Linked DNA regions of Homo sapiens: all the other regions are linked to region 5. The links are contacts of gene promoters, found by promoter capture Hi-C in blood cells and fetal thymus (Javierre and others, 2016). All regions are on one chromosome and are shown on one strand. Each heading gives the region's core, a stretch centred on a gene start or on the middle of the fragment in contact. The rest is flanking DNA. Distances are from core to core; before and after follow the strand shown. Region 1 overlaps ANXA2R-OT1 (ANXA2R overlapping transcript 1). Region 2 overlaps ZNF131 (zinc finger protein 131). Region 3 has its middle 12 kb from the start of FLJ32255. Region 4 has its middle 73 kb from the start of FLJ32255. Region 5 holds the start of OXCT1-AS1 (OXCT1 antisense RNA 1). Region 6 has its middle 69 kb from the start of SELENOP.

Evidence for each region. Contacts are between HindIII fragments. The CHiCAGO score rates a contact against its expected background, and 5 or more counts as called.
Region 1: a contact is called between a fragment that was not itself captured here and the fragment with the promoter of OXCT1-AS1 in region 5, in 2 of 17 cell types (naive CD8 T cells and total CD8 T cells). The highest score is 7.5, in naive CD8 T cells.
Region 2: a contact is called between a fragment that was not itself captured here and the fragment with the promoter of OXCT1-AS1 in region 5, in 2 of 17 cell types (non-activated CD4 T cells and naive CD8 T cells). The highest score is 7.8, in non-activated CD4 T cells.
Region 3: a contact is called between a fragment that was not itself captured here and the fragment with the promoter of OXCT1-AS1 in region 5, in 1 of 17 cell types (activated CD4 T cells). The highest score is 5.9, in activated CD4 T cells.
Region 4: a fragment that was not itself captured here is called in contact with the fragment with the promoter of OXCT1-AS1 in region 5 in 1 of 17 cell types (non-activated CD4 T cells); the score reaches 5.2 in non-activated CD4 T cells.
Region 6: a contact is called between a fragment that was not itself captured here and the fragment with the promoter of OXCT1-AS1 in region 5, in 4 of 17 cell types (M2 macrophages, M1 macrophages, M0 macrophages and 1 more). The highest score is 7.2, in M2 macrophages.

Annotation. Positions count from the first base shown.
Region 1 is chr5:43,048,390-43,051,609 of GRCh38, reverse strand. The region is part of intron 2 of ANXA2R-OT1 (ANXA2R overlapping transcript 1); the gene reads left to right. Among named protein-coding and RNA genes, the nearest start is that of ANXA2R-AS1, 7.9 kb to the right of the region's middle. The HindIII fragment of the contact is 199 bases long and covers 1,535-1,733 here.
Region 2 is chr5:43,122,164-43,125,655 of GRCh38, reverse strand. It overlaps ZNF131 (zinc finger protein 131), which reads right to left. Exons shown (of 7, transcript NM_001330707.2): 2 at 3,479-3,492; 3 at 2,346-2,447. Among named protein-coding and RNA genes, the nearest start is that of ZNF131, 3.0 kb to the right of the region's middle. RefSeq lists an enhancer at 3,087-3,492. The HindIII fragment of the contact is 1,119 bases long and covers 847-1,965 here.
Region 3 is chr5:42,979,718-42,982,919 of GRCh38, reverse strand. No RefSeq gene overlaps it. Among named protein-coding and RNA genes, the nearest start is that of FLJ32255, 12 kb to the left of the region's middle. RefSeq lists enhancers at 520-1,345, 1,346-2,171. The HindIII fragment of the contact is 9,477 bases long and covers 1-3,202 here.
Region 4 is chr5:42,918,230-42,921,512 of GRCh38, reverse strand. It overlaps the pseudogene PRELID3BP6. Among named protein-coding and RNA genes, the nearest start is that of FLJ32255, 73 kb to the left of the region's middle. The HindIII fragment of the contact is 2,255 bases long and covers 321-2,575 here.
Region 5 is chr5:41,868,767-41,872,336 of GRCh38, reverse strand. OXCT1-AS1 (OXCT1 antisense RNA 1) reads right to left here and starts at 2,307. Exons shown (of 3, transcript NR_046635.1): 1 at 2,145-2,307; 2 at 1,955-2,046; 3 at 96-1,571. OXCT1 (3-oxoacid CoA-transferase 1) reads left to right here and starts at 1,912. Exons shown (of 17, transcript NM_000436.4): 1 at 1,912-2,056. The coding sequence starts at 1,979. It overlaps LOC102723752 (a long non-coding RNA gene), which reads right to left. Exons shown (of 3, transcript XR_925956.4): 1 at 2,735-3,570. RefSeq lists enhancers at 1,316-1,365, 2,196-2,275. The HindIII fragment of the contact is 3,584 bases long and covers 1,560-3,570 here.
Region 6 is chr5:42,878,896-42,882,536 of GRCh38, reverse strand. No RefSeq gene overlaps it. Among named protein-coding and RNA genes, the nearest start is that of SELENOP, 69 kb to the right of the region's middle. The HindIII fragment of the contact is 2,449 bases long and covers 42-2,490 here.

The sequences.
Region 1 (3,220 bases), core at 385-2,884, 1.2 Mb before region 5:
CTGTGTTCAAGCAATTCTCCTGCCCCTGCCTCCCGAGTAGCTAGAATTACAGGTGCACACCACCACACCCAGCTAATTTTTGTATTTTTTGTAGAGATGGGTTTTCACCATGTTGGCCAGGCTGGCCTCGAACTCCTAGCCTCAAGTGATCCACCTGCCTCAACCTGCCAAAGTGCTGGGATTACAGGCATGAGCCAATGCGTCCAGCCCTTTTTTTTTTTTTTTTTGAGATGGGGTCCTTGCTTTGTAATTGAGGCTGGAGTGCAGTGGCACAAACAAGGCTTACTGCAGCCTCAACCTCCTTGGCTCAAGCAATCCTTCCACCTCCACCTTCCAAGCAGCTGCAACCACAGGCGCATGCCTCCATGCCCAGCAAATTTTTGAACTTTTTGTAGAGACGGTGTTTCGCCTTTTGCCCAGGCTGGTCTCGAAGTCTTGGGCTTCAGCAATCCTCCCACCTCGACCTCCCAAAGTGCTGGGATTGCAGTTGCGAGCTCTGACACCCAGCCCATTGCCAGATATTACAGGAAACAAAAAATTCAAGATCCAGTCTAGATTTCAGGTAGACGAAAAAACCTCAAAAACAATGAGCTAGAGTCTAATAACAGGTGCACTATATTTTTTTCTCTGAAAGTTTTTTCTCTATACTTACTCCCTTTTTATCAAACATCATCAAAGTATTAGTAAGAGTAATCTGTTTGCAAAATAAATTTAGTGTCTTTAAAGTTGGCCTAATATTTACACAAGTGCAGCAGGAATAGTGTTTTACCACACAGGGTCTCTTTAAGTTGGCTTTTCTGGATCTTTTAATAAGGAATCTCAAATTAGACTTTTAAAAGCCTCTCAAGGCTAGGAAACCATACCAGGATCTTGCTATCACACTTTGCCTGGAATACCTATAGATTTCGGTGAATTCTTCCCTTGTCAAGGTCCTCCAAATATCCTGATGTTCCTCAGCCTGCCAGGAAGTGACATTTCTTACCCACCTGTAAGGCCAGGAACCCTTTTAAACCAGACCAGTTTCTCAAGTCTGAGTGTGTTGTTTCTGTTCCTAAAAACCACAAAAGAAAGAAAACAGTGATATTACATTCAACGTGGTAACAACTCTGAATCTTTGTTCTAACAGTGGAAATATAATATCTCTAGGGATTAAGCCCGGTCTCCAGAATGTACCCGGGCCATAGGAAAATAACATCCAGATGTTTTTTAACAGCACCTACAAGGACGAGCTGAGGGTTTCTCAGTATAGGGGAAACTGTCACAAGGTGTACCCTCTTTTCTTTTGAAGCAGTAAAAGCAGTTCTCATTCTTCCCCATTCTTTGTTCAAAGCATATGAGATATGAGCCAGCTTTATAGTTATTGTCATGCTACCTTACATGCATGTAAATCTGTTAAGGCTAATTCAATACTAGTGTTCTGTCTCTCTTCTGTTGGGTACACAGGGGTCTTTTTGTGTCAGGATTGTTTTATTTCTCCCACAGTGGATATATTCTTCCCCTTTCTTTCATCCTAAGTGGATTATTCTTAGAAGCTTATCCTAAGTGGATTATTCTTAGATAGGGCTTCCTAGAAGATGGTTCCATGTGATCAAGCAAACTGTTGTGTTCAAGGTAGGTTCAGTTAATAGTACCCAATGTTCATAAAAGTAGTGGGGGATTCTCTTTAAAAAAAAGAATAAAAATTTTGAGTACAAAATTACAGACCTGTTCAAACGGATCCTAAAAGCTAAGCTTCCTTAGCTGCATGGTAAATTCGCCTCTGACCCTGCGTGATACCCAGTATGGGCCAATAAGGTAGTGTTGCAGGAAACTGAGGACCAGAGAGACTGATATGGAGAACAGGAGGATTGTTTATTTTAGGTACGCACCGGCTCAGTGGATTTGCATCCAAAAAGCTGAGCCTAGAACAAAGACAGAGTGGGGTTTTTATAAGCTGGCTTACAAAAGTAAAACAAAAGCAGCTAATCATATGATAGGTCACATAATCTATAGCATAGCATAACTTGTGGCCTTGCATAGTCGGTGGTCTTGTGCCTGCATTGAAAGAAAAACAAGAACTGGCTAAATACAGACATTTGTAAAACATAATCTCGCTTAAGAAGCCTGGGAGAGGAGTAACAGTAAAAGAATTTGTCTTTCTTTTTTTTTTTTTTTCATTCAACCTTGCTCTGGAGCAGGGGCGGGTGTCTGGAGCCCATTCCTTTGGACTTGGCTTTCCGGACAGGGGTATCTTATAACTGTCTTTGAAGTGAGCTTGCTAGGCAGAGGAGAACTTGTTCTTTTCTTTTTAACCCTTGCCCTGCCTGTTACTTTTCTTGGAGTGAATGAATGCGTATTTATTTTTAAATTTTCTGCCTCAGTAGCACACCATTGAATTGTCTCTCACTCCTTCCTATTCTAATTACCCTGTCTTTTAACTCCCACTCTCTTAAAAAAACCACTTTTGAATTAAAAAGTGGCACATAAGTTTTCACTTTAGCTAATGCTTCCTGTGGAAGCCAGGCCAATAAAATATGCCTCTCTGTTTACCTTATATGCTTTGACTTTTTTCTTCTGCAGACTGAATCCTAAATAATTCAATCTGTATTGAAAAGATTATGAGGATGCCTACAAAAATAGAATGATTCAGGTCACTATTGACCTTTGAATGGCCCCGAATGAGACATGATGCCAGTATTTAATAAGTCTGCCTGAGCAGGGCAGAAAAATTAAAAGGCCCTTTTAAATATCAAGCAAGTATGAATATTTATATGCCTATTTTGTATATCACTCTTGTCAATCCCCCAATTTTTTGGTTAGCCAAGAGCTCTCATGATCACAGGTGATAAAAATTATAATGTATTAGCATATTGAATCCAGCAATATATGTTTTAAAAAATACATCATGATCCAGTGGGATTTATTCCATGAACTCAATATTGGTTTAGCACTTGAAAATCAGTTAATATTAGTCAACACATTAACATTAAAAAGGAAGTAAACCATGTGATAATATCAGTAGATGCAGAAAATCTTTTAAAAATTTAACCCCTTGTCATTCTTAAAACAAAACATATCTTAACAAATTAGAAAAAGTGGATTCCCTTATTTATTTAAAACTATATCTATAAGAGACATACATAGTTAATATTCCACCTTGAAAGAAATAAAAATGTTTAACCCCAAAATATATTTATTTGAAATATTTTCAGATGGCTGCCAGAGAACCAGCAAAATAAGT
Region 2 (3,492 bases), core at 157-2,656, 1.3 Mb before region 5:
GGTGCCCACCACCACGCCCGGCTAATTTTATATTTTTAGTAGAGACAGGGTTTCACCATGTTGGTCAGGCTGGTCTCGACCTCTCGACCTCAGGTGATCTGCCTGCCTCGGCCTCCCAAAGTGCTGGGATTACAGGCGTGAGCCACCGCATCCGGCCAGGCCACTTATTTTTTAAGACTTAAAAATTCTGCTCAGACTTGGCCAGTCGTGGTCTCACGCCTGTAATCCCAGCACTTTGGGAGGAAGAGGCGGGTGGATCACCTGAGGTGGGGAATTCGAGACCAGCCTGATCACGCCATTGCACTCCAGCCTGGGTAACAAGAGCTAAAATCTATCTCCAAAAAAAAGAAAAAAAAAATTCTGCTCAGACTCAAAACTCCTCTTTGAAATCTTTCCTAAGGAAGACCAAACCACTCATTCTCCCTCTTCAGTGATACCATTTCACAGTAATAGTCTTTGTAATACTTTTTGCACTCCTTTATTTGCCTGTTGCTCACCTGTTATGAAATTTTCCGACTTCTTTAAGGGACATCTTATTCATTAATTCTTCATCTCCTGGGTCTAACATAGTACATGATATATTATAGATATTCAATATGATAAACTGACTTTTTTTTTTTTTTTTTGAGACAGGGCCTTGCTCTGTCGCCCAGGCTACAATGCAGTGGCAAAATCATGGCTCACTGCAGCTTTGACCTCCTGGGCCCCAGCAATCCTCCCGCCTCAGCCTCCTGAATAGCTGGGACCACAGGCATGTGCCATCAGACTCAGCTAATAATTTTTTAAATTTTTTGTAGAGAAGAGGTCTCCCTAATGTTTCTTAGACTGGACCCTGTTTATCAAGCTTTGACAAGGCACCAAATATCATGCCATGCACTCTGCATGTTATCGCAATTAGTCTTTATAATCCTATGAACCCACTTTTCAGATGAGGAGAAAAGTATGCAATTGAGGTAAAGTAACCCGCCTGGGGTCACATATTTAATAAACCTCAGGTGTGAATGAATTCATGGAGGCTTGCTTTGTAGTAGAAACCACTATCATCTGGGCAGTTAGATTCTCACTTTATTAAGTTTTGTGGATTTTCATAATTATGTCTCTGTCCTGATTATAGATATTAAAAGATACTCTAGCTGTAAATATATCAGCTATAATGCTAAACTGGAATATACCAAAATTAAAGAATATTCTTAACTCTTTTTTGTTTTCTTTACTCCCCTAGGCATCAAAGGGAAAAAAGGAGTTTCTAGGCAACCCATTCAGAACAAAGAATACGTACACAATGAAATAGATATAAAACCAAAACCCAAGAACCCTAAAAGAAGCTAAAATTCTGTAATTACGTAGGCAAACATTTATTTCCTGCTGTTTTAGATTTTGATGCTGGTGGTAGGGGAGGAGTTACTGCAGTAGCAGAAGAAAAAGCATGGTAATTAATAGCACAAACTTAATTCCTTGCTAGTTGGACAACCCTGGGCAAGTAACCTTTTAGAGCCTGCTTCCTGAAGTGTAAATTATTACAAATAACACCACTTCCCTTTTTGAAAAGAAAAGAAAAGAAAAGAAAAGACAGGGTCTATGTTGCCCCAGGCTGGCCTCGAACTCCTGGGCTCAAGCAATCCTCCTGCCTCAGCCTCCCGAGTAGCTGGGACTACAAGCACAAGCCATCCTGCCCAACATCAAACGATTGCTGTGAGCCTTAGACAATACACAAAACTACATATCACAACGCCTGGCACTTGGCAGGTTATTATTAGAAAAATGTCTAGAAAGTACAAAAATCACTTTTTGCTTCAAGGTAACAGGTATTGATCCATCCCATTGTAGAGCCAGAATTTCCTCTAAATGCTACTTCAGTTCATTTTTCCTAGCTTTCTCCCTATTATGGCAGCCCACTTCACACTGCATGTCATCTGTACCTCTGCTAATACATCACTACTTCTGCTATAGAGTACAGTAAAAGCTTCTACTGTAACCTGCAGCATCTCCAGCAGTCTGAAACATAAGCCCACTGAACAAAGATAGTAATTCACGTTTAATACTTGTTTTCAAAAAACAATGACCACCAGTTTCCACAATGGAAAAGACCAACATCTACCATCTAAGTTTTTCCTGGCAGATCATTCAACCAAGCACTTCACTGAAAGTAAGACTTCTCAGGTATCAAAAGAACAATTTATCTACCTTTACCTACAGGAACTACTGATGCCTATTTCCTATGGTGTCTTGATAAACTGTCTAAAACTGCTTCACCAATTGTTTGCTAAGTATTGTATTTAAAACAAGCATTTAAATAAAATGGCTTCTTTGATTTATTAAATAAAAAAACAACAAGAATCATTTACCTTCTATCTCCACCAATGGTTCTTGGGTAAACTCCTGAAAGAATTTGTAGAAGAACTTACTACAAGCAGCCAAAACAGCCTTGTGAGCCTTAAAATGGTGTCCTAGGTAAAATAAGAAAAAAAAAGAAAATCATACACAAGCACGAAAATCAAATGTATAACTACAAAATAGACTTAAAAATCATATAAAGCAAAATAGGTCTTCCTTCATTACGTAACTACAGAAATTATTGAACTAAATGCAGAATATTCTTGGCAGCTATCTTGGCAAATGTTAATCTCAATTAGATATAAAGCTAAATCTTCACTTCAAACCCCTTTAGTTTTATAAAGCCTAATTTACAACACTAGGTAAGGAGCCTCTTGACACTCTGTTGTTTCCAATTAAGTAGTGAGAAGCATATCCAACTCAGTTGAAACTGCTAAATAAAAGGACAACCCAAAAGGTCACATATCATTTGGAAAGAGAGAAAAAAACCGTAAGCACAAAGCTGGATATGTCTGCTATGAAAAACATTTTAATATGCCTAATATTTGGAAGCTCCATCTATGGTAGACCCATAATTTTAAAAACAGGTTACCTTGAGAAACCTATTTTCGCTAAACAGAAAACATACCCACGCTGGATTTCCTTCCATTATAGAGGCAACTCCTAAGGCTGGTAAAGACCCCATTTTATTTTGGAGATTCTCAAAGGGGGTATGAGTGCTGCAATGGAATCTCTCATTCTCCCTTCAAGACCATTTGGGAAACTAGAAAAAAAATCAACACTTCCCAAATGACTCCTGTAAGGGACTTCTCAAAGCTTACCAACAAGAGGCTATCAACCAAACATTTTGAGACAATCTGTCCCCAACGACATCATCTTGCACTCAACAGGATGTAAGAAGTTAAAATGAGATGAACACCAGACTACGTGGAAGGCATGACTGACCAACCAGCCTTCTGCAGCACGCTGTGTGAGTGGACACTGACAAGTGCAATCTGGTCCCAGTGCACACACTCTGCAGACTTTGGTAGGGAGACCATAGAGGATGGGTTAAAAAAAAAAAAAAAAAAAAAAAGGCGGGTGTCCGAAGGACAGAAAAAAACTGAAGCCAAAAATTCGCTCCTCTGCCCACTGCCCTACCCACCGTCGACAATTAGG
Region 3 (3,202 bases), core at 423-2,922, 1.1 Mb before region 5:
GTCGGGTGTGGTGGTGCACACATGTAATCCTAGCTATTCAGGAGGCTGAAGCAGGAGAAGGCTAAGGCAGGAGAATCGCCTGAACCCGGGAGGCAGAGGTTGCAGTGGGCTGAGATCACACCACTGCACTCCAGCCTGGGTGATGGAGCAAGATTCTGTTAAAAACAAAACAAAACAAAACAAAAACAAACACCTCCAGACCAGAATTTCTCAGGGAGGTGGATTTGAGGGTCCCTCCTGTTTCCTCACCTGGCTGCCCTGCTATCATTACATTCTTTTTCTGCTGTAAGCCCTGCTGTTTCAGTGTTTTGGTATATATTTATGTTACTGCACAGCAGATATCCAAACCTGTTGGTCCTGTAACGATCAGGCACATCTTTTGTATTGGTTTGTCTTGTGTTTTTTTTTTTTTTTTTTTTTTTCCAGATGGCCTAATTGGATTATTTCAGCAAGCTAAGTAATTTGAAGAGAGAGGCTAAGCCAATGTAGTACTAGAGCTACACTGGCCTTCTTTGGCTTAACATTTGTCTGGAATTATAATTTCCTCAATCTAAGAAACTAGTCATTGTAAGATGTGTCATTATTTCTTTTTTTATTTTTTATTTTCTTAGTATTTATTGATCATTCTTGGCTGTTTCTCAGAGAGGGGGATTTGGCAGGGTCATAGGACAATAGTGGAGGGAAGGTCAGCAGATAAACATGTGAACAAAGCTCTCTGGTTTTCCTAGGCAGAGCGCCCCGCCGCCGCCTTCCGCAGTGTTTGTGTCCCTGGGTACTTGAGATTAGGGAGTGGTGATGACTCTTAACGAGCATGCTGCCTTCAAGCATCTGTTTAACAAAGCACATCTTGCACCGCCCTTAATCCATTTAACCCTTAGTGGACACAGCACATGTTTCAGAGAGCACGGGGTTGGGGGTAAGGTTATAGATTAACAGCATCCCAAGGCAGAAGAATTTTTCTTAGTACAGAACACAATGGAGTCTCCTATGTCTAGTTCTTTCTACACAGACACAGTAACAATCTGATCTCTTTCTTTTTTTTTTTTTTTTTTTGTGTTTAAACAGCTTTATTTTTTTTTTTTAATTGATCATTCTTGGGTGTTTCTCGCAGAGGAGGATTTGGCAGGGTCATAGGACAATAGTGGAGGGAAGGTCAGCAGATAAACAAGTGAACAAAGGTCTGTGGTTTTCCTAGGCAGAGGACCCTGCGGCCTTCCGCAGTGTTTGTGTCCCTGGGTACTTGAGATTAGGGAGTGGTGATGACTCTTAACGAGCATGCTGCCTTCAAGCATCTGTTTAACAAAGCACATCTTGCACCGCCCTTAATCCATTTAACCCTTAGTGGACACAGCACATGTTTCAGAGAGCACGGGGTTGGGGGTAAGGTTATAGATTAACAGCATCCCAAGGCAGAAGAATTTTTCTTAGTACAGAACACAATGGAGTCTCCTATGTCTAGTTCTTTCTACACAGACACAGTAACAATCTGATCTCTTTCTTTTTTTTTTTTTTTTTTTGTGTTTAAACAGCTTTATTTTTTTTTTTTAATTGATCATTCTTGGGTGTTTCTCGCAGAGGAGGATTTGGCAGGGTCATAGGACAATAGTGGAGGGAAGGTCAGCAGATAAACAAGTGAACAAAGGTCTGTGGTTTTCCTAGGCAGAGGACCCTGCGGCCTTCCGCAGTGTTTGTGTCCCTGGGTACTTGAGATTAGGGAGTGGTGATGACTCTTAACGAGCATGCTGCCTTCAAGCATCTGTTTAACAAAGCACATCTTGCACCGCCCTTAATCCATTTAACCCTGAGTGGACACAGCACATGTTTCAGAGAGCACAGGGTTGGGGGTAAGGTCACAGATCAACAGGATCCCAAGGCAGAAGAATTTTTCTTAGTACAGAACAAAATGAAAAGTCTCCCATGTCTACTTCTTTCTACACAGACACGGCAACCATCCGATTTCTCAATCTTTTCCCCACCTTTCCCCCCTTTCTATTCCACAAAACCGCCACTGTCATCATGGCCCGTTCTCAATGAGCTGTTGGGTACACATCCCAGACGGGGTGGTGGCCGGGCAGAGGGGCTCCTCACTTCCCAGTAGGGGCGGCTGGGCAGAGGCGCCCCTCACCTCCCAGACGGGGCGGCTGGCCGGGCGGGGGGCTGACCCTCCCCACCTCCCTCTCGGACGGGGCGGCTGGCCGGGCGGGGCGCTGACCCCCCCACCTCCCTCCCGGACGGGGTGGCTGCCGGGCGGAGACGCTCCTCACTTCCCAGACGGGGTGGCTGCCGGGCGGAGGGGCTCCTCACTTCTCAGACGGGGCGGTTGCCAGGCGGGGGGTCTCCTCACTTCTCAGACGGGGCGGCTAGGCAGTGACGCTCCTCACCTCCCAGACGGGGTCGCGGCCGGGCAGAGGTGCTCCTCACATCCCAGATGAGGTGGCGGGGCAGAGGCGCTCCCCACATCTCAGACGATGGGTGGCCGGGCAGAGACGCTCCTCACTTCCTAGATGGGATGGCGGCCGGGAAGAGGCGCTCCTCACTTCCTAGATGGGATGGCGGCCGGGCAGAGACACTCCTCACTTTCCAGACTGGGCAGCCAGGCAGAGGGGCTCCTCACGTCCCAGACGATGGGCGGCCAGGCAGAGACGCTCCTCAATTCCCAGACGGGGTGTCGGCCTGGCAGAGGCTGCACTCTCAGCACTTTGGGAGGCCAAGGCAGGCGGCTGGGAGGTGGAGGTTGTAGCGAGCCGAGATCACGCCACTGCACTCCAGCCTGGGCACCATTGAGCACTGAGTGAACCAGACTCCGTCTGCAATCCCGGCACCGCGGGAGGCCGAGGCTGGCGGATCACTGGCGGTTAGGAGCTGGAGACCAGCCCGGCCAACACAGCGAAACCCCGTCTCCACCAAAAAAATACGAAAACCAGTCAGGCGTGGCGGCGCGCGCCTGCAATCGCAGGCACTCCGCAGGCTGAGGCAGGAGAATCAGGCAGGGAGGTTGCAGTGAGCCGAGATGGCAGCAGTACAGTCCAGCTTCGGCTCGGCATCAGAGGGAGACCGTGGAAAGAGAGGGAGAGGGAGACCATGGAGAGAGGGAGGGGGAGGGGGAGGGGTGATCTCTCTTTCTTTTCCCCACATTTCCCCCTTTTCTATTCCACAAAACCGCCATCGTTATCATGGCCCGTTCTCAATGAGCTCTTGGGTA
Region 4 (3,283 bases), core at 199-2,698, 1.1 Mb before region 5:
AGATAAAGTTTAGCCATGTGGACAGGTCCCAGTTTTGTCCTGTCCTGAAATAATTTGGATCCACTCCAGCTGCCTTTTGTAAAATAATGAGTTTATGATGCCATGTCATGGCTAGAGTTTCACGGTAACATCTATTTGATCTTTGTGTGTATGGATACGTGTTTCTATGTGTTTCTGTGCGTGTTACATGTATTATGTTGTATGTTATGTCCAAAATGGCACCATATTGGCTTATAAGTAAATGAGTGCTTACAAATTTAGCAAGAAAGTCCAAATGCTTTTCAAATTTGTGTGAATTTAGTAGTCTTTAATAATAAGCTTGCTTTAAAACTATTCACAAAATAAAAATAGAAATGTCTTTGGAATGGTAAACATACATTTTTTTCTGGGTTTACTAATTAGATGAGTTTTATATTTGCCTTTGCTAAATATTTGAACATGCTAGAATTTTACATGAAGGTTATAAGATCATAAACTCAACCAAAAACAGAATAATCTTTCTTTGAATGACTTTTTTGATAAATAAGACTAATTTAATATTGTTGGTTCCATAAGAATAATTAATTTTTCTGTATTATCAGAAAAAAATGCCCATGTGTTTAAGATTTTTGCATAGGTGAACACCTGATATTCACAGGCCATGCAAATTGTTAACAAAGAAATAACTTGGAGCGATAATTAGTGTTGTCTAATGTCTTAGTTCTAAGAACTAATCTAGATAAACTGCTATAGGTGAATAAATTGAATAAATGTAAATGGAATCAATGCTTGTAGGTGAACTTTTAATGTAACTTAAACTATTAAAATTATTTCAGATACCATTGAATGTCTGGGTCATTTCCAATTAAAAAAGAATTGTGACATTGGGCATTGGTCACACTTCTGAATCCATTAATGTGAAATAAAATCTATGCTATGAGTTAAGCATTAGAGCATTAGTGGACCTCAAATGAGCTGAATAAGAATAAGGTCTGAGTCTGGAAAGTAATCAAGCTACAAAAAGGGGATTGGCCCAATGGATGCCTGTGTACTTGCCCCCATACAGGCAAGCAATGAATGTGAAACAATATCACCTGCCAGAGGGGCACTGAAGTAACCCAAATAATCCAGGGTGCTGGAGTGAGATGCTGTCTCAGAATTAATTAATTAATTAATTAATCAATGCATTGTATTCTCTGCTGCACCTTTTTTTAAAAAAAATCTCTGTCTTCTGAAATGCCTGAAGAAAGAAAATAGTCTCAGTTGATGCAGGCCCTGAGATGGGCAGAGATTATGAGATCATCACATACACTTGGTGCTATGGACTGAATTGTCTTCCCCAAAATTCATGATGATTTTGATTAATCCACAAGGTGATGGTATTTAGAGATGGAGCCTTTGGGAGACAAGCACGTTAAGATGAAGTTACGAGGTTGGGGCTTTCATAATGGGATTGGCGGCCTTCCGAGAAAAGGAAGAGATACCATGTCCTTCTTGTTCTCTCCCCTTCTCCCTCTCTCCCTTTCTCCCCCTTTCTCTCTTTTTCTTTCCCTCTGTGCCATGTGAGAACACAGCAACAACATGGCCATTGGCACGACAGAAAGAGAATCCCCACCAAGAGCTGAATCTGGTGCTTTGATCTTGGACTTCCAGATCGTGGGTAAGACTCACCAGGGGAGAATTCTGTAGGTGCCTGGAATTGTCAGATCTAGAGTTAATGCCCTGGAACTCTGTGGTTGTCAACTCAGAAGGCACAAGGCTATAAATCTTCCTGTGGTCCTCTTTAATCTGCCTTCGCTTTTTGTTTTTTGTTTTGTTTGGATTTTCAAGTAACAAATTTATTTTTCCAGTTAACATAACCAGTCCATGGTACAGCATATTAAATCACAAACTACAAATCCAAGGACCTTTTGCAACCTTTACCAGGTTGCAAAACTTTGGCAAATCAATGTAGTACATTTTATTACAATGAAAGCATTTTTGTTAGAGTCATATATTATTTTAGTGATAATTTTCACTCCAAATATACTTAAGTAGTAAACCAAAACACTGGTTCATTTGTTTGTTTGTTTTGTTTTGTTTTGTTTTTGAGATGGAGTCTTGCACTGTAGCCCGGGCTGAAGTGAAATGGTGTGATCTGAGCTCACTGCAACCTCCGCCTCATAGGTTCAAACGATTCTCCTGCCTCAGCCTCCCAAGTAGCTGGGATTACAGGTGCCCACCACCACGCCTGGCTAATTTTTTTGTATTTTTAGTAGAGATGGGGTTTCACTATGTTGGCGAGGCTGGTCTCAAACTCCTGACCTCGTGATCTGCCCTCCTTGGCCTCCCAAAGCAGTGGGATTACAGGTGTGAACCACTGCACCCGGCAAACACTGGTTTTTAATGATGGTTTAAAATAACTTGCAGAGCAAGTTATTATTAATAAACATATTAATATGTTTGAAAGCTATACAAGTTCTCCTTTTAAATTGAATTTCCTCATGCAAGGTGTTGAAGTTTACAGCAGCAGGACAATTGTTTGTATGTAAGAGATGGCTCTGCTTTGTTCTGGGGTTGGACCAAAGCCAGGTGGTGTTCCAAAGTATGAAAAGCTTTAAAATTCTACCTTAAGTTGATTCAATGTCAATGCAAACTTCCAAGTACTTTTTAAAAAAATGTTAAAATTTTGCTTATACACAATTGGTGAGAGTGTAAATTAGTGTAAATATTTCCACCATTGTGGAAAACAGCATGGCAATTCCTCAAAGACCAAATAACAGAAATACCATTTGACCCAGCAATCCCATTACTGGGTATGTACCAAAGGAATATAAATTGTTCTACCATAAAGACCATACATGCATGTGCACTATTCACAATAGCAAAGACATGGAATCAACCTAAATGTCCTTTAATGGTGGACTGGATAAAGAAAATGTGGTATATATACACCATGGGATACTATGCAGCCATAAAAAAGAACAAGATCATGTCTTTTGCAGGAACATAGATGGAGCTGGAGGCTGTTTTTTCTTAGCAAACTAATGCAGGAATAGAAAAACAAATACCACATGTTCTCACTTACAAGCTGGAGATGACATGGACATGGACACAAAGAGGGGAACAACAGACACTGGAGCCTATTGAAGGTGGATGATGGAAGGAGGGAGAAGATCAGGAAAAATAGTAATGGGCACCAGGCTTCATACCTGGGTGATAAAATAATGTGTACAACAAACTCCCATGACACAAGTTTACCAAAATAACAAACCTGCATATGTACCCTGAATTTAAAATAAACATTAAGAAGAATAATTTCTTT
Region 5 (3,570 bases), core at 1,058-3,557:
GAAAAGTTCAGATATTTAAAAGAAGTAAAATTTTGCACACCAATTAAAATTGAAGTGCCTTTGTGTAACTAGAAGTGAAATCAGCACATAAGAACTTTTTTTGTAATTTGTAATCTAATTTATTCAAGTTGAAGAGACTTGCACATTATTTAAAAAGTATAAAATGAAGTCACAGTCATCAAAAATACAGTACAGTGTGTTTTGACCATACAGTAATTAGGGTGATTTTCTCAGGAGACTTAGTCACATAGCATGCAACATTTAAAATGTGTCTTCCTCAGCCAAGAGCAACAAAGTGAGACCAGCCAAGAGTCAGTCATATGACCACCGGCAAAGTTGCCAATGCAGTTTTTCCATTTCATGTGCCCTGTGGAAGGGCAAAAGTGGAAAAGCAGACCCAATCGCAATGGGCAAAAGTGGAAAAGCAGACTCAATTGGAATGCTAGTTTTTTTCACATTGTGTAAGTTAAAGGTACAACAGCTGCTATATGCTAAATTATCACTAGTTATGGGACTTTAGTTACAGTACTTGAATTTCCCCCCAATCCAACTTCTTAAAATGTGTTGAAATACCAACTAGCAATAAGTTAATTTCTCCAGTGTAATTGAATAGTCTAACTTGGTATCTTACTCCTTAACTGATTTTGACTAAAATTATAATATTTACAGGAAAAAAAAAAGTTCAGAGTTAAAAGAATACCATGAAAGGGCAAATGATTTTATGGACAAACTTTGAACTGCATCTTCACTGTTCATTACCTTACTGTATTTGCTAAGGAAGCTAAGATCTCATTTAATTTTTGTGTGCTTTGCTTTGGTTCAAAACTAACATCACATTCTCAGAACTTGGTCAGGCCTTAATCAAATAAAATGCTATTGAGCTTCCACTTGGTCTTTCCACTCTGCTAAGTGCAAAGACAGTTCTGGAGAAATCAGTCGTGGCTCATGTCCTCAAGGAGTTGGTCAAAAGACAAGGCTTGGCGAATATGTACGTGCCATGTCAATGAACTGCTACAATGGAATAAACTTATAATAATGCCTAACATTTATTGACTCCTCATAATAAGGCCATAAACTTTGCATGAATTAACTCATAGAAACGTTATGACGTTGTATCACAAGCAATCCTAATTTGCAGATGAGGACACTGAGGCTTAGGGAAGTTATCTAACTTGCCTAAGGTTAAAGCAATATACTGCTTTTATGGTTGCATCTTTAGTAATCTCTGGGGTTGCTGGGACTCCAGTGCGAGAAAGAGCCCGAAATTCGCAAACTTGGATGATGGGGAAGAAAAGGTGTGCTAAACTCAGGTCACAGAGGTCCAGTCTTAATCTTGTTCCTCTGCAAGCCTTGTTGCTCACACCTCTTGACCGACAGTTCGAGGCAAGTGCTCACAGCAAACTTACTCTATGTAAGCCAAGGCCAGATGTGGGGAGAAGGGGCTGAGAAATGTTAGAAACGTGAACGCAGTCCAGGCGGGAGAAGAGAAGGGGGCCTCGAGGGGTGCCCCTATGCAGCCCACACACACGCCAGGCACTAACTTGGAAAAGCAACAAGCTTGGCGGGAGATCCTCCCGCGGCCGGAGGGCCCTGAACCCTAGGCCAAGACTCATCCACAACCTAGGGGGAGGCGGCCACCAGCGCCCCATCGAAGCTAAAGGGCTGACAGAAGGGCTGTAGCGGCAAGTGTGCGCCAACACAGCTGCACACGCCCAGACACCTGAGGCGCTGAGAGGAACTTCCCCGCGATCCGCCCCGGCTGCACAGAGCCTCTTCTCCCCGCCGGGGCCCCGCCCAGCCTCACTTCTTTTAAAAGCAGCAGCCAGCAGCGCGCCGGTGGCGTGCGGCTCGAAAGGCCGGGAGGACGTCATCGACGCGCTGTCGAGCCTCCAGCCCGCCCGGGTTTCCTTCGCAGTCGCGCACCGACGCTCAAACGCGCGCTCCAACCCGCAGCCTCCTCCTGCCTCACCGCCCGAAGATGGCGGCTCTCAAACTCCTCTCCTCCGGGCTTCGGCTCTGCGCCTCTGCCCGCGGATCTGGGGCAACCTGGTACAAGGTAAAGTGCGGGGGAAGAGGAAGGCCATGGGCAGGAAGAACGTGGACCAAACCCTGAGTGGTGCCCGCGTTTTCTTCTCTGCCCCTACCCGCTCTCTCCAGCCTGGGATCTGGCATCCGTGGCGCGGTGCCCTGGTCACGGACACGCGGCGACGCGTTCCTGGCCTCGCCGGCCCCTCGGATGACCGCCTTTGCTTGGTTCTGCAGTCGCTTCCCTGATGGAGCGAGACGCGATAAAGAAGCGCGCGGAGAGGCTGAGAAGGGGCGGGAGGACTCCTGGCAGCGCTCCCGAGCCCTTTGGCGCTCGTCGGCTTCCCTCCTGGCACCCGCCCTTGGATAGGGACTCTGAGGGTCTGAACGGGGGGAGGAGGGCGCCAGTATATGGAGGTTTAGGAGTGAGGCAACAGCGGGTAGGTTTGCGCCCCCGATGTTGGATCTCTGGGCAGAGGAACCTCTAGAGGCCCAGAACCTGAGGCTGGGTTAGCCATGGCTCTGCTCGAGTTCACCGGGGCTGGATGCCGGGTGCGGCGGGTGTGGAATGCCGCTCCCATCCTCTCCTCCCTATTTGGCTCTGCTGCCCCGTAGACTGGAGCGCTCGCCAGGGCGTCTTGCCGGCCAAGCTGGGAAACCATCCGAGGTGTGTCCCTGGCCCGCGCCTGGGCTGCAGGGGAGGACAAACCTTTCTCTCGAGGCCCCTCGTATCCGGGTTAGGGGCTTTCGGTTTTCAGAGCCCTTTGAAATCCTTTTTGTGCCCCACTGCCGACTCTCCACCGAGTGGTATCCGGAGGCATTCCCACCGTGGACTGACTTGTGGTTTTGCCTTATGCACTGTCCTCGCTTGTAAGCCCACCCCTGTCTGGAGCCCTAGGAGCGAATTACAGGACCAGAGCGCCAGGTCCAGGAGGGTGGCTTTATCCCCGCCGTCTCAATCGCGGGAGCCTCTTCCTTGGTATTCAGTAATAGGTCTGAGCTTGACAGCGTGCCATGCACACGGTGCTTACTCCTGAAGCGTGCCTGCCTGGCCCCATTGCTCTTTCCTGCATCCAATCCCTGACCGCTGAGAACACAGAGGAGCCACTGAGCTCCTTCGGTAGGTGCTAGGGAATGGTTCAGAACTGGACCATTTTACTCTTAAATGCCTCTTAGGAAGCATTTTTATAACTGCAGATAGACTTGGATATATAAAGCATTATTAAAAGGGAACTTGACCTTCAGTGAGATTGCAGCGGTGCTGAAGCTAATACAAACCAGAGCACAGCGATACCCTTGGGCCGAGGTCAGGAACGTTCCTTCTTTTGACAGTTACTGATTTGCCCAACTGTAATTTACTCACTTCAAGTCTTTTCCATCTTGAGTATATCATTAAACCATTTCCGAAGCTCAGCAAACCTCATCTTAGAGGGACGAGATGCAAATAAGGGGTTCTGCTATATCTCATTAAAAGTTCATACAGAGTTCAAACTTAGCCCTGTCAGGCTTGATTATCATAGGTCTAACTCCTGCCTTCCACTATTC
Region 6 (3,641 bases), core at 17-2,516, 1.0 Mb before region 5:
AAAAGATCTAGTCTGTAATCCAGAACTACTGAGTCAAAGCTTCCAACTGTGAGGGCTAAGAAGTTTTGTTTTAAAAATTTCTGATATGGCAAGTTCAATAATATGAAATCTAGCTAGAACTAGTGATAACGTTTGGTAGATTTACCCCAAATTATTCTTTGTGAATAATTTTATTTATTCATTTTATATACAATTATGGGATGATATTGTATATTGTATTTGTATTCAGGCAGAACCCCAAGCCCAATTAGCTTAAGCAAACAGAGTTTATTGGCTTATGACTGAGAAGTCTAAAGCTGGTTCTGACTTTAATAACTACTCAACCTAGGGTGTCTGATATCTTCACCATCTTTATTTGGGAGTTAAGGCCTTTCTTTTCCTTAACCAAGTTCTAGGAAGAAAAGGTCCAGGACTTGTTTTCATTAGCCTGTCTTTCATGATGTACCAAGGAAATGAGTTACCTTAATTTAATCTAATTAACGTTTTTGACCTATGTGGGTTGGAGTCAAAGCACCACTTGAAACACGTGAGATGTTTTTCCCATAGGAAAGGGAAGTTCTATTAGCAGAAGAAGGAGGGGAAAGACATCTGCTGATCAGAAGAAAATAACAGATGTGATTAACACGCACTACATAGTTCTGCTTCCTGCTGTTTTCACTTAATGTTGTATACTCATCACTTTTTCATATCCTCAAAAATTCTTTGAAAATCTGATATTTTATTACCACACAATATTCTACTTTATATGGACAGTCTATTGGTTATCAATTGCTGCAAAATAAATTACCCTCAACAGCGTAAAACAACAAAAAATCTATTATATCCTATAGTTTCTCAGTGTCAGGAATACCTGAGTGGCTTAGCTGGGTAGTTTTGGCCACATTCTGTCATGAGTTTGCAGTCAAGCTGTCCGCTAGAGGGAAGATGTTGGTCAAAGGGCACACAATTTCAGTTATATAAGATAAATAAGTCCTAGAGACCTACTGTACAGCATAGCACCTGTAGTTAAAGATACTGTATTGAATACCTAATTTTCTAAGAGCATAGATCCTAAATGCTCTTATCACAAAATAAAATATAAAATAAAAGAGGCTCCTGCTTTTTGTCTTTCCACATTCTGCCCCAGGCCATCTCCCAGGCCCTGGGAACATCTTTGGCTTGTGCAAGAGCAGATCAGAAGTGCCAGGGGTTAAAGCCCTTGAGACCAACCCTTGGGAGAATGGTGTTGGAGTATTTGCTCCGCCTTCCATCTTTCAGGTGAACCATTCAGAGAAAGTCTGTACACCACTCAGAAGTCCCAGCAGAATTGAATCTCCATTGCTGATGGCAGGGACCTCAGTAATGCATCCTTACATGAGCTCTCCCTGCTTCCTCATGTCCCTCTCCAAGCTCCCTTGACCTGGTTCCCTAGTAGATCTTTTTAAATAAACTGCTTGCACCTAGTCCTTGTCTCAGGGTTTGAGTTCAAGGAAATACAAAACAAATCACCCTTTAAAACTATTTTTAAAAATTATATGGCATCAATATTTCAAACAGTTATGTAGCAACCATCTTGTTGAGCTAAACTCAAAGTCCCAGAAAAGGGAACAAGGATTCTTTACTGTCATACTAAGTAAATGTAATATTGTGTACATACCCTGTCTTACTGTGTTTTTGAATTAGTTAAAAGCCATCTCCATATTTTCTTAAGTAAACACATTATAGCCAATTGCACAATAGATGCTAACAGAAAACATTACTTTTCAGATATGGAATGTTCTAAGCAATATATTTCAAAGATTGTAAGAGATTTTCCTCCAAGAAAATGAGAGTAATTAAAATCCTCCGTATTTGGCATCCTCTTTCCTGGGATGATTAAGGCCTCCAGCTCTTGGCAGGTCAAGCCATTAAGGAAATCTGTGTGGCCATTTGAACAGGAAGGATTATACACTGACTACAGTTATCACTGGTCCAGAGGTAGAACATGCCAAAACTACTATTCAGGATAATTTTGAACTTGCTGATATGTCAATTTCAGTAAACAGAGTAACAAAGGACAGCCTGAAGTTTCCTGGGCTGGTGATGTGTGAACCCCCACGATTCTATGCAAGTCCAATTGCTAGAGAAGTGGCTTCAAATCAACTCTAAATTACTTTGGGCATATAGGAGGAGGGGAAGGAAGATGGCTACTCCATTAGTCCTCTTTATCCTTAATTTTTACAAATTGTGTGTATACTTTACGCAGTAGAAATTTACACTACAAATTCTGAATAAATCAACATGCTATCATTGTTTACCATCACTATAAAATGGTGGAAGAGTAAGTCCATTTATTCATGCAGAGATGAAACAGTTTTAAATTTATATTTTAACCTCATTAAAATTCTCAACTTACAAAAAGAACTACTAGCCAATCTCTTAGCCCAAGTGTCTGTTAAAACACTTGTTTGTTTGGGAACTTAACTGAAAACACAATTCTCAAGGAAATTGGCAGAATTATAACTATAAGCTTATAGTGACTCAATATATATTAAAAAGTTAAGGTAAAAAATATAAGAAAATGCTAATATGTAAACACTGCAAATATTTTAGTGAAGTAGAAAATACTTCTATCATATAAGGAACCAGTCTAATTTATGCTTAGATTTTTCACATATTGAATTTTGTGGTCAATGACTAATTACTCTTGTTTCTAAAATGAATGACATAATTTTAGCTAAAAGCATAGAAACTTGGGGATCTAGCAAGCATTTGCAGCATTATAGTGAGCAAATGAAGATATGCTTTTTAGAAAACACTATCTTAAAGAAACTTCTCAGACTTTTATTGTTACTTTCAAGGACACCTTGAGTGTCTGAAGACTCTAGATTAAGATCCACTGGTTTGGCTTGCAGATTCTTTCTCTTGGAAATCTGCCTGGGTCATATGGTGCAAATCAAGGCTAGGGCCCTGGTAACCTAAAATGATCACCCTCCCAATGCCTGACTATCATAAAGATCATAAAACAGCCTCAGAGACGAGTTCATAGCAAAGTCCACTCTAGAGGCAATTCTCTTACAAGTGGATCCTGCAGGGCGATATGTTTGATTAGCATTTATAGACTGAAGTTTCCCTTTGTGAGGTCAGAGCTGGACTGTCTGCTGTTCCTGCCTGTGCTGAGGCCTGATCATCAGCTTGGCAGTAGGTCACCAGGAAGCTTTACTTTAAGTTCCAAGACAGAGAATTTTAGATTTTCTGCTTTCCAGACTACCCACCATCCCCATGGAAATGGAAATCCACTCCAAATCCCACCTAAACACACACACACACACACACACACACACGCACACACACACACACACATGCATGAGCAGAAAATAGACTTATTGATACACTTTCCTGAGCACAGGCCTACAAAATGCTTTTTCGTTTTTGACATCTAATGATTTAAGATGTGGCCTATACCTAGAGAAGAGCTAAATATCAGGACAAACATTCTCTTCTTTTTCCTAGTCTTTTCTTCTTTTTCATTGAAAAAGCTAAATGCTGAATTCACAATTTTTATAGTGAAGCCAGCTTATCTTTTTCAGATCCTAACACTCAGACTCTTAAGTAGCTGGCTTTAGTTCTTAAAATAAAATTGGTAACTTTTTTCTCCTAACTCACCTTTTTAAAAAAACACC